2 separate regions of the Homo sapiens genome follow, and region 1 is linked to region 2. The links are contacts of gene promoters, found by promoter capture Hi-C in human tissues and cell types (Jung and others, 2019). All regions are on one chromosome and are shown on one strand. The core of a region is centred on a gene start or on the middle of the fragment in contact, and the rest is flanking DNA. Distances in the headings are between cores, read along the strand shown.

Region 1 (4,731 bases), core at 1,194-3,693, 1.1 Mb before region 2:
AGAAATTATAATAGGAAACTGGTTTAGTTGGGAGGAGCCACTCAAGGCATCTATGAGAAAGTGGCTTTTGAAGTAAAAATTCTAAAATGACCAGGAATTAGCTAGACAAACAAATCATGGGAACAGAGTCTTGAGCAGAAAGAATAGAACGTCAGAGGGTTCCAAGACAATAACGAGCTTGTCATACTGATAAAATAAAACTTTGCTCACTGAGAAAATGATGCCTCCTCTCCTTTTGGACTCTGACATGTAACATTGGGTTCCTGTTTCAGTAGGGTCCAAACAGAAAACTGATGTCATAAGGATGGTTTCAAATTTATAAACAAGTCAGCAGATTCTAGGAAAACACACACACACACACACAAATGTAGTTAACCTGGGGTTAGCAACCACAGAGCTATTACTATCTTTAGACCAAAGAGAACAATGGAAAAGTGTATAATACAACCTGACAGTGGAGCATCATGTAGAAAAGGCCACCTTGAGTAGAGCAATAACTTTCAGTCTACTGACATAGAGCTAGCTTCACAGTTAGAGAGTCCCACTCTCCTCCCTACCTCTCATTTTCTGCTGAGGCACTTCACTGAAAACCCCACCAGAAGCCAGAGGGAAGAGCCTCTCATAGTAGTCAATACAGCTCAGCCTCCCCAGGTGGCTAACGGAAAAGGTAGAAAGGGATACAGTTGAATCTGGAGGAGCAAATATAAATGCCTGGCACAGTTTGCCATTTCCACAATGAAGAAGGGGTGCCAGGAAGGCGGGTGGCCTTAAGATCAACCATATGCTCATGAAGCAGAAGAAAACTAGCAGCTTTCCATCTTAGCTTCCATTATTTTAACGAGTTTCCTCATCTCTATTATTTCTTTGCCCCCTTGGGTGATTCTACTTCTTATTAGCAAGATTGCTTTCATATTAGCTTCCAATCACACCACATGAGGATACAGAGACCTGATATAACTCTACTTCTCTGCAGGAGTCTCTACACCCTGTTTGCATACTCCTCCAAATTTATGCCTCTAGTATGGTTGCGAATATTCTCACCCATGATGTAGCATGAAATTCTCAGTCTACAAGGTGCATGAGATTTACCTGGTGAGCTTGTTGAAAGGCAAAACCTTGAACCCACCCCTCAGAAATTCTGAATCAGTTGGTCTGGCCTATAACCCTGGAATCTCTATTTAAAACAAGCATGATCTGTGATTCTCATGCATGTGCTTGAAGGAACACATGTTGAGAAACTCTTGGTATAGTTGCTCCACTAAAGACAGCATATTACTGATGATGCATTTCAGAAAAAAAATTAATGTATACAACAATATTTAAGAAAATAGAAATTTTGGTAAAAGCTATATGATGCCAAAAATAGAAACAGAACTATGCAGTGATTTGCTTAATTCACAAGTAAAACTAAAAGTGAATGGAGTTACTACAATAAATATTCAGTTGTTAGTGATGTGAACTGCAAAGGTTTTACATTTTCCTATGATCAATCAGTGAATAATGGTTCATGGTACTTTGGCTTTATATTTCTCTAAGAACTGACCCCCAGGGTCACCTAATTTTAATTTCTAATTGACACATAATAACCTTTGGAATCAACCTAAGTGTCCAACAATAGATGAATGAATAAAGAAAATGTAGTATAAATATATAATGGAATAGTAATCAGCCACTAAAAACAAAATTCTTTTATTTGCAACAACAAGTATGAATCTAGAGGTTACTATGTTAAGTGAAATAAACCAGACACAGAAAAACAAATACTTCATGATCTCACTCATATATGAATCTTAAAAAGTTGATCTCTTAGAAGGAATGATGAGAACAGTGATCATGTAATGATTTTCATACCAACATTTCAAGTCACTGGGGGAGTTTATACCTTAAAGGAAACTTGTAAATTGTTTTGTATTGTTAAATATTTTTTAATGTGAAAGGGAATTCTCTGCAGGATATATCAGCTTTTTTATTTATTTATATTTATAAGGTTTTCATATAGAGAAAAAGTCAATAAACTTTTTCTGTAAATGGAAAGATAGTAAATAGTTTAGGTTTTGCTGGACATAAAATGGTCTCCGCCAAAATTGATCCTGCTATTATAATGTGAAAGGAGCTATAGACAACACAAAAGCAAATTAATTTGTTTCAATAAGACTTTCTTTGTGGTCACCAAATTTATAATTTTATATCATTTTCACAGGTCATGAAAGATTCTTCCTTAATTTTTTTCAACCATTTAAAAAGATGAAAAACATTCTTTCTTCATAGGTTGTGTAAAAAATAGATGCTGGGTTATAATTTGTTGGCTCCTAATTTTAGACAATCTTGGGGGTTATGGTAATTAGAACACATAGAATTTATTTTTTCTTATTCCTAGACATAAAGCATGAAAAATATTAGGTCCTCAAGCAATCCATGATACCTATCTATAATTCCCAACTGGGTCTTAAAGGAAAGATAAGGAAAAAGACAAATCACAAAGACCTGTGATTGAGTCCCAGCTGGTTGTTTCACCTCCACAAACTGTGTCACCTTGGGCAAATTACTTCTCTGTAGGCCTCACTTCCTTCACCTATTGAAGAGGTTGATTATCCCCACTTCACAATGTTACTATGATAATTTTTTTAAAAAGTTAATAATATAAGTATTCACCACTGTGTCTGGTACCTTAAAAATGCCTCTTAAAGATGAACCTCTTTCTCTTTGGTTAAAATAAAAATAATTTACTGATTATAATCAAATCCTGGTATTCACTTAACTGTAGTTCTCAACCTTGGCAGAATATGAGAACTTCCAGGAAGAGTTATAAACTTTTGATGATAGAGCAACAATCCTAACCAAGTAAATCAGTATCTCTTGATGGATGGGACCCAAGACTCAGTATTTTTAAAGCTTCCCAGTGTGCACCCAAGGTTGAAGGCCTTCACCTTTCACCTTGCTATTTCTTAAACAAAAAAAATGAAACATCAATGCTTCTGTTGTCATCATGTAAATGTTGGAGACATTGGTAAGCAGTTTACTTGGTCATTTATCTCTCTCTCTCAAATAGACTTCTCTTCTGCTCCACTACCTGCCCCGCCACCACTCTTGACATCCCACTGCAAGTTGTTTGGGTTATTCTTTATCACTGAGCTCCTACAGTTCCCTATCTCCTCCAATTTTTTCTTATCCTTCCCTCTAACCCCACTTCATCATCACACAGACAGCCAAGGAGGACCTGGCTGGAAAAGCTTGTAGCACGAGCACATGTATCAACTGGAAAGGGAAGGAGAGACTGAGGACATGACCATATCTCTGTGGATACCTAGGAAAGAAATCAAAATTGCTGAAATTGGACCCTCCATCATGAGCAGCCAGAGAGGCAATAGTAATGCCAAGTCTATACAGGATTGCTAAATGACAGGAAGACACCAAAGGTCAACTGGAGTGGCCACATTAGAGGATTCCACTCCAGGTGACTGTAGTAGTCTCAGACAGTAAAGGATCGGAGTTACAGCAAACAGCACAGTACAGAGATGTGATTTAGTGGCCAGTAATGTATATTTTAATCATATTTTTAATTTAACTTTTATATTTTTCATAACTTCACATTCGATACATTTTTCAAATATTAGCATTTGAAAAGCATGAAGCAAGGAGATTGTTAATTCTGTTAAATATATTTTCACTTTTTTTTTTTTTTTTTTACAAAATGCCAGGGTTGCAATATCACGCCCCCCAACACACACACACACACACACACACACACACATACATACAGTTCTGGCATTTTTCCCAGCATTGTAATCACCGCTTCTCGCATCTCCTGATGCGTATGAAGTTTTAGAGGATCTCTTTCTGGCCACCCTCACTGCAGATGAAGCACCATGACCTAGAACTCTCTCTCAATGGGCACTGGTGTTCCAACCAAACTGGCTCAGCTAAACCTTTCCTACCTCACTCGCCAAGCCTTCATGCACATTCCGAAGGTTAACAGTATCCTCTCTTCCAAGGGCTGCCAACAATTAGGTAAGGCAAAGACTGAGAAGATAAACCATATTTGATTGACACCAAATCAATAAATCTTGAATTGGCTGGCTCTTAAGGGGAGATGAAGAAATGGACTCTGTGTTAAATGTAAAATCAGCAGTGGCAGAGCACTGTCGTGAAATAAAAGTTAATATTATCTCAGATTCCTGACAACCATATGACACGTCATGATTTTTAATATTAGATAAAATCTGGGCACCTGTCATGTACTTAAAGCAAGCCACTTTTTTTCTTCTTTAAAATTTTCTTCTAAGACAAATGCATTAACTACAGAGAACAACCTCTCATTTCTTTTTCCCTTCTGCCTCCCCCATCCTGTCTCTCATAGCTCACTACTTTCTCTATTTCCCATTTTTTTTACATTTCTAAGAAAATTGGCAAAACCTTGTTTTTAATAATCCACAGAATTAAAAAAATTATAGTTGGGTATATATCTAGTCACAATAAGCTAAATAACAAATTCAAAATAAATAGCAGTTTCCTTTTGCTCACTTGGAAGCTAAGAATGATTGTGTAAAGGAAACATTTGAGTAGGAATTCACTGCCTGCTGCTGAAAGCCAGGCTTGCTGTAAACATGTACACAATTTAACAAATGAAGATATATTTGTCCAAACATGACCTCTACAGGGGTCTCACAATTCTGCTGTTCCCATTTCATTTCCTTGAGAAGTAAAAGTTACTTTAAAACCTATAGACAGATC
Region 2 (4,969 bases), core at 1,299-3,798:
GCACCTGTAATCCCAGCTATTTGGGAGGGCTGAGGAAGGGGAATCACTTGAACCCCGGAGGCGGAGGTTGCAGTGAGCTGAGATCACGCCACTGCACTCTAGCCTGGGCAACAAGAGCAAAACTCTGTCTTGAAAAAAACGAAAAGGCTGGATGAAAGCTAAATTTACCATTTATTGAGTGTTGACAATGTGCTAGGTACTATTATATCATCTGACACTTTTTTTTTTTTTTTTTTTTTTGAGACGGAGTCTCGCTCTGTCGCCCAGGCCGGACTGCGGACTGCAGTGGCGCAATCTCGGCTCACTGCAAGCTCCGCTTCCCGGGTTCACGCCATTCTCCTGCCTCAGCCTCCCGAGTAGCTGGGACTACAGGCGCCCGCTACCGCGCCCGGCTAATTTTTTGTATTTTTAGTAGAGACGGGGTTTCACCTTGTTAGCCAGGATGGTCTCAATCTCCTGACCTCATGATCCACCCGCCTCGGCCTCCCAAAGTGCTAGGATTACAGGCGTGAGCCACCGCGCCCGGCCGACACTTTTAATCCTTACAAAAACCCTATTAGATTCATATTACTATCTGTTTTTATGGGGAAACTGAGGCTCAGAGAGCTAGAGTCACACAACTGGTAATTAACAGAGACAAGATTGGAACCAGCTGGGACTAACTCCAAGTCTATGCTCTAAACTATTAGGCAATACTGCCCAAATGAAAATGATTACATAGTAATTAAGTATATTAACAAAAAGATGATTTTGTATTCTTACTCTATAAATCAAAAGTCATGTTCAATTGTGGCAAGTAGGTTTTCTGAGAGATTTATCTTCATGAGAGATTTCAATAGATTGGTCTGGAAAACTCTGTGGCAACTCAAGGTAAAGTAAAAGGGAGGAGACGCAAAAACTGCTTTAACACTAAAAATCTGTAAACAAAGTTAATGGTAATCCCTCTATTGGAATGGAAATCCCAAATCAGTAATAATAGCTCATGAAAGCAAGGTGTCAGAAAACTGCTTTGCCAGCAAATCATTTGTCTGTTTAGAGCTCATCATTCTTTTTTCTTTTTTAAATCATCACGGATCAACATTTTTAATTTTTTTTTTTTTTTTTTTTTTTTTTAGATGGAGTCTCGGTCTGGAGTGCAGTGGCGCGATCTCGGCTCACTGCAACCTCCGCCTCCTGGATTCAAGCGATTCTCATGCCTCAGCCTCTGGAGTAGCTGGGATTACAGGCACGCGCCACCACACCGAGCTAATTTTTGTATTTTTAGTAGAGACGCGGTTTCAGCATGTTGGCCAGGATGCCCTGGGTCTCTTGACCTCGTGATCCACCCGCCTCTGCCTCCCAGCGTGCTGGGATTACAGGCATGAGCCACTGCGCCCGGACTTTTTTTTTTTTTTTTTTTTTTTTTTTTTTTGAGACCGAGTTTCACTCTTGTTGCAATGACGCGATCTCGGCTCACTGCAACCTCCGCCTCCCGGGTTCAAGCGATTCCCCTGCCTCAGCCTCCCGAGTAGCTGGGATTACAGGCATAAGCCACCATGCCCGGCTAGTTTTGTATTTTTAGTAGAGACGGGGTTTCTCTGTGTTGGTCAGGCTGGTCTCGAACTCAGGTGATCCGCCCGCCTCGGCCTCCCAAAGTGCTGGGATTACAGGCGTGAGCCACAGCGTCCAGCCAACGTTTTTAATTCTTAAAACTGTGTTTGAATGAGTGTTGGGTTTTTGTTGTTTGGTTTTCTTTGGGGTAAGGCGGTTATCACCTTACACAAAAAATTTACATCATAATATGAAAATGCCCATTGGTTCATTCAAGGAAAAACATAAAGAATTTCTAACAGAATGGATTAATGGGGTGGAAGAAATTTATCCATTCTCTAAAAATTTTTCAAATCCCAAAAACTTTTTTTTTTCATTTTACAAAATATTTACTTCAAACAGTAGCTGGCATTTTGCATTTAAGAGTTCGACCAAAAGGGACAGAAATATAAATTGCTAATTATTAGCAATGGAAATGAAAATGAATCAGAAGTGACAATAAAGATTTCTAAAATTACAAGTCGATGAAAAATGAATTTACTGTAAATTGGTTAACACAAATCGCTGTAGTAACATATCTGCTATGTGAAATTTTTAAAATAAAAACCAGGGCGGAGAAGGGGAGAAGGAGATCTCTTTCCAAGGCCCACCACCCAAATTCTAATTCTTAGTTCACAGATCCAAATAATAATAATGTGTTGTTCTATGACTTCTAGTATTAAAAGTAAATATAAATTTACTCTGCATATTAAACATTTACATTATTCTAGGACTTCTCCTTTAAATTACGATAGTACACACACAAAAACCTTATTTATCTAATTGCCTTTCGTTGGCACATAAAGACAAAGATCGTTTGCAACATAATCGCGTTCTGATAGGTTTGACCCTCTCTAGTCTTCGTAGAAGGTGGCCAAGGTTTCCGTTACCCCGGCGTCCCTCGGGCACCGCGGAAACGAAACTCCATCAGGCTCCGCCCCACGGTCTGCGGAGTGAGCCAATCAGGGCACAGCCTGCGTTGACCGCGTGCCGGGTGTCATGGCGGCCTGCAGGTACTGCTGCTCGTGCCTCCGGCTCCGGCCCCTGAGCGATGGTCCTTTCCTTCTGCCACGGCGGGATCGGGCACTCACCCAGTTGCAAGTGCGAGCACTATGGAGTAGCGCAGGGTCTCGAGCTGTGGCCGTGGACTTAGGCAACAGGTAAGGAGTGACGTGCGTTCACTGTATTGTCATAAGGTGTCTTGTCCAGCCAGCTTGAGCGTATTCATCTCCCAGGGTAGAAACCCGGTATCCCAGCTCTATTTAATCTCTCCTTACCCTAAACCTAAATTCCAAATTTCCCTTTCCGGGTTTGGAATGTGTCTCCTCGGACCCTCCTTCCCGCGCTATGTCGTTCTCTCTGTTGGTGTGTGCCGGGCTTCTTTGCTCCATCCGACTCTGTCCGTCCACCTGACTTCCGATCTCTTTACTTTCCGGGACCACTGGGCTCTTAAGTGGGAAACATTCCACCTAGGAATAACGAGTTGACGTGGGTGAGACGAGGCCCCCCGGGATGCTGGCCCGGACCCTGGAAGCTGGGGCTCTGATGCCCCTCGAGCTGGGACACAGACCTCAGCAGAGGCTCCGGGTGGCTAGTGCACCACGGGTCCCCCACGTCCCACTCCTCGGGCTCCTTCAGCCTCCTCTTCACCAGGAGCCTACCTTGTAGAAGTTGAACACCAGGTCCAGTTCACAGACATTGTGGAAATATTCGTTTAAGACCTGGGAGAGGAAGGCAGAGATGGTAAGAGATGGACAGGGAGAGAGCCACACACGCACAGAGATGGGAACAAGGTCATCAGAAAGAGACAGCAAAAAAAAGAGACCAAGAGGGAGGCAGGGGAGAGAGAGAGACAGTGACAGGGAGAGAGGCAAGGAGACACACAGAGAGAAACAAAAGCAAAGATCGATGCAAAGAGATGGCAAAAGGTCAGGCGCTCACACCTGTAATCCCAGCACTTTGGGAGGCTAAGACGGAAGGATGACTTGAAGTTAGGAGTACAAGATATCATGTCATCCAATCTAATTGATTGCCTAAAGTGTGACCACTATGACCCTGGGTTAGGAGGAAAAGGAAAAGTCAGTTTTTTGAACGCCAGTTATATGATCCTCGCAATCTTTTTAAACCTGTCGTAAAGGTACTATTACCCTCATTTTATAGTTAAGACTACAGAGGCTCAAAAAAGGTTAGATAACTTTCTAAGAGTCTATAAAAAAGTTAGTATTATGGGACTAGGTGGTTTTTGAATTTCTGTTTTTTGCTTACAAAGCCCATACTTTTTTTTAGGGGACCGCTTTTTAAAAAAAAAGTTTGCTTTAATCGTTCTTAGAATAAATGGAATTGCTAATGCAAACTTCATATATCTAAATTTTTTACGTGTACTTTGAAAAAATTTGGACCCCAGTTCATACAAAAAGCAAAAAAATCATTTTGAATCCAGGTCTCGCACTCTAACTTTGATAAGTAGTTGACATTGAACAGGTTAATTCACCATTTTCTTGTGCAAAGTGTGGAGAGTGGATTCCATCAAGGGTCTGCAAACTTTTCTATAAAGGACCAGATAATATATATATTAGGCTTTTTGGGGTACACACTGTGTGTATGTGTTTACAAACCCTTTAGAAATATTTTAAAAAACGGCCGAGCACAGTGGCTAACACCTGTAATCCGAGCACTTTGGGAGGCTGAGGTGGGTGGATCTCCTGAGGTCAGGAGTTCGAGACCAGCCTGGCTACAATGGTGAAACCCCGTCTTTACTAAAAATACAAAATTAGCTGGGCGTGGTGGCAAGCACCTGTAATTCCATTTACCTGGGAGGCTGAGGCAGGAGAATCGGTTGAACCCAGGAGGCAGAGGTTGCAGTGGCAGAGATCGTGCCATTGCACTCCAGCCTGGGTGATAAGAGTGAAACTTTTGTCTCAAAAAAAAAAAAAAAAAAAAAAAATATATATATATATATATATATATATATATAAACATTTTTAATTGAAGAGTAATATAGAAATAGGCCACAAGCTGTAGTTTGGTCACCCCTAGACTAGGTTATCTCTAAGGCTTATTCCACTCCCAGCATTCATTAATTCTGATTTTTGAGGGAAGTGGACATCTCTTCCATTCTTCAAGGACTACACATGCTTCAAAGAAATGCCCAGAACATTTCATTCAACAGACACATACTGTGAGATAGGCATTAGATACTGAAAACAAGATGCAGCTGCTGCCCTCCATATTTTCCATAAATAATCTACTTTGACTCTTTCATTTATTAATCAACCTGTTCCTCTTTTGTAGGTAGTTCTTTTTAAACTCGTGTCATGTGTTGAAATAACTAGACTAATAAAATATCATACCTGCTGGATAAATTCTTTCATTTTTGTCTTGTTTGCCATTGGCAACATTT

Evidence for each region. Contacts are between HindIII fragments. The study calls those that stand out against the background at their distance.
Region 1: a fragment that was not itself captured here is called in contact with the fragment with the promoter of PNPT1 in region 2 in 1 of the 25 tissues and cell types used here (dorsolateral prefrontal cortex).

The regions. Positions count from the first base shown.
Region 1 is chr2:56,742,701-56,747,431 of GRCh38, reverse strand. No RefSeq gene overlaps it. Among named protein-coding and RNA genes, the nearest start is that of CCDC85A, 560 kb to the right of the region's middle. The HindIII fragment of the contact is 4,990 bases long and covers 1-4,731 here.
Region 2 is chr2:55,691,423-55,696,391 of GRCh38, reverse strand. It overlaps PNPT1 (polyribonucleotide nucleotidyltransferase 1), which reads left to right and starts at 2,548. Exons shown (of 28, transcript NM_033109.5): 1 at 2,548-2,729. The coding sequence starts at 2,569. RefSeq lists enhancers at 2,359-2,508, 2,539-2,598, 2,609-2,728 and a silencer at 3,299-3,358. The HindIII fragment of the contact is 13,131 bases long and covers 1-4,969 here.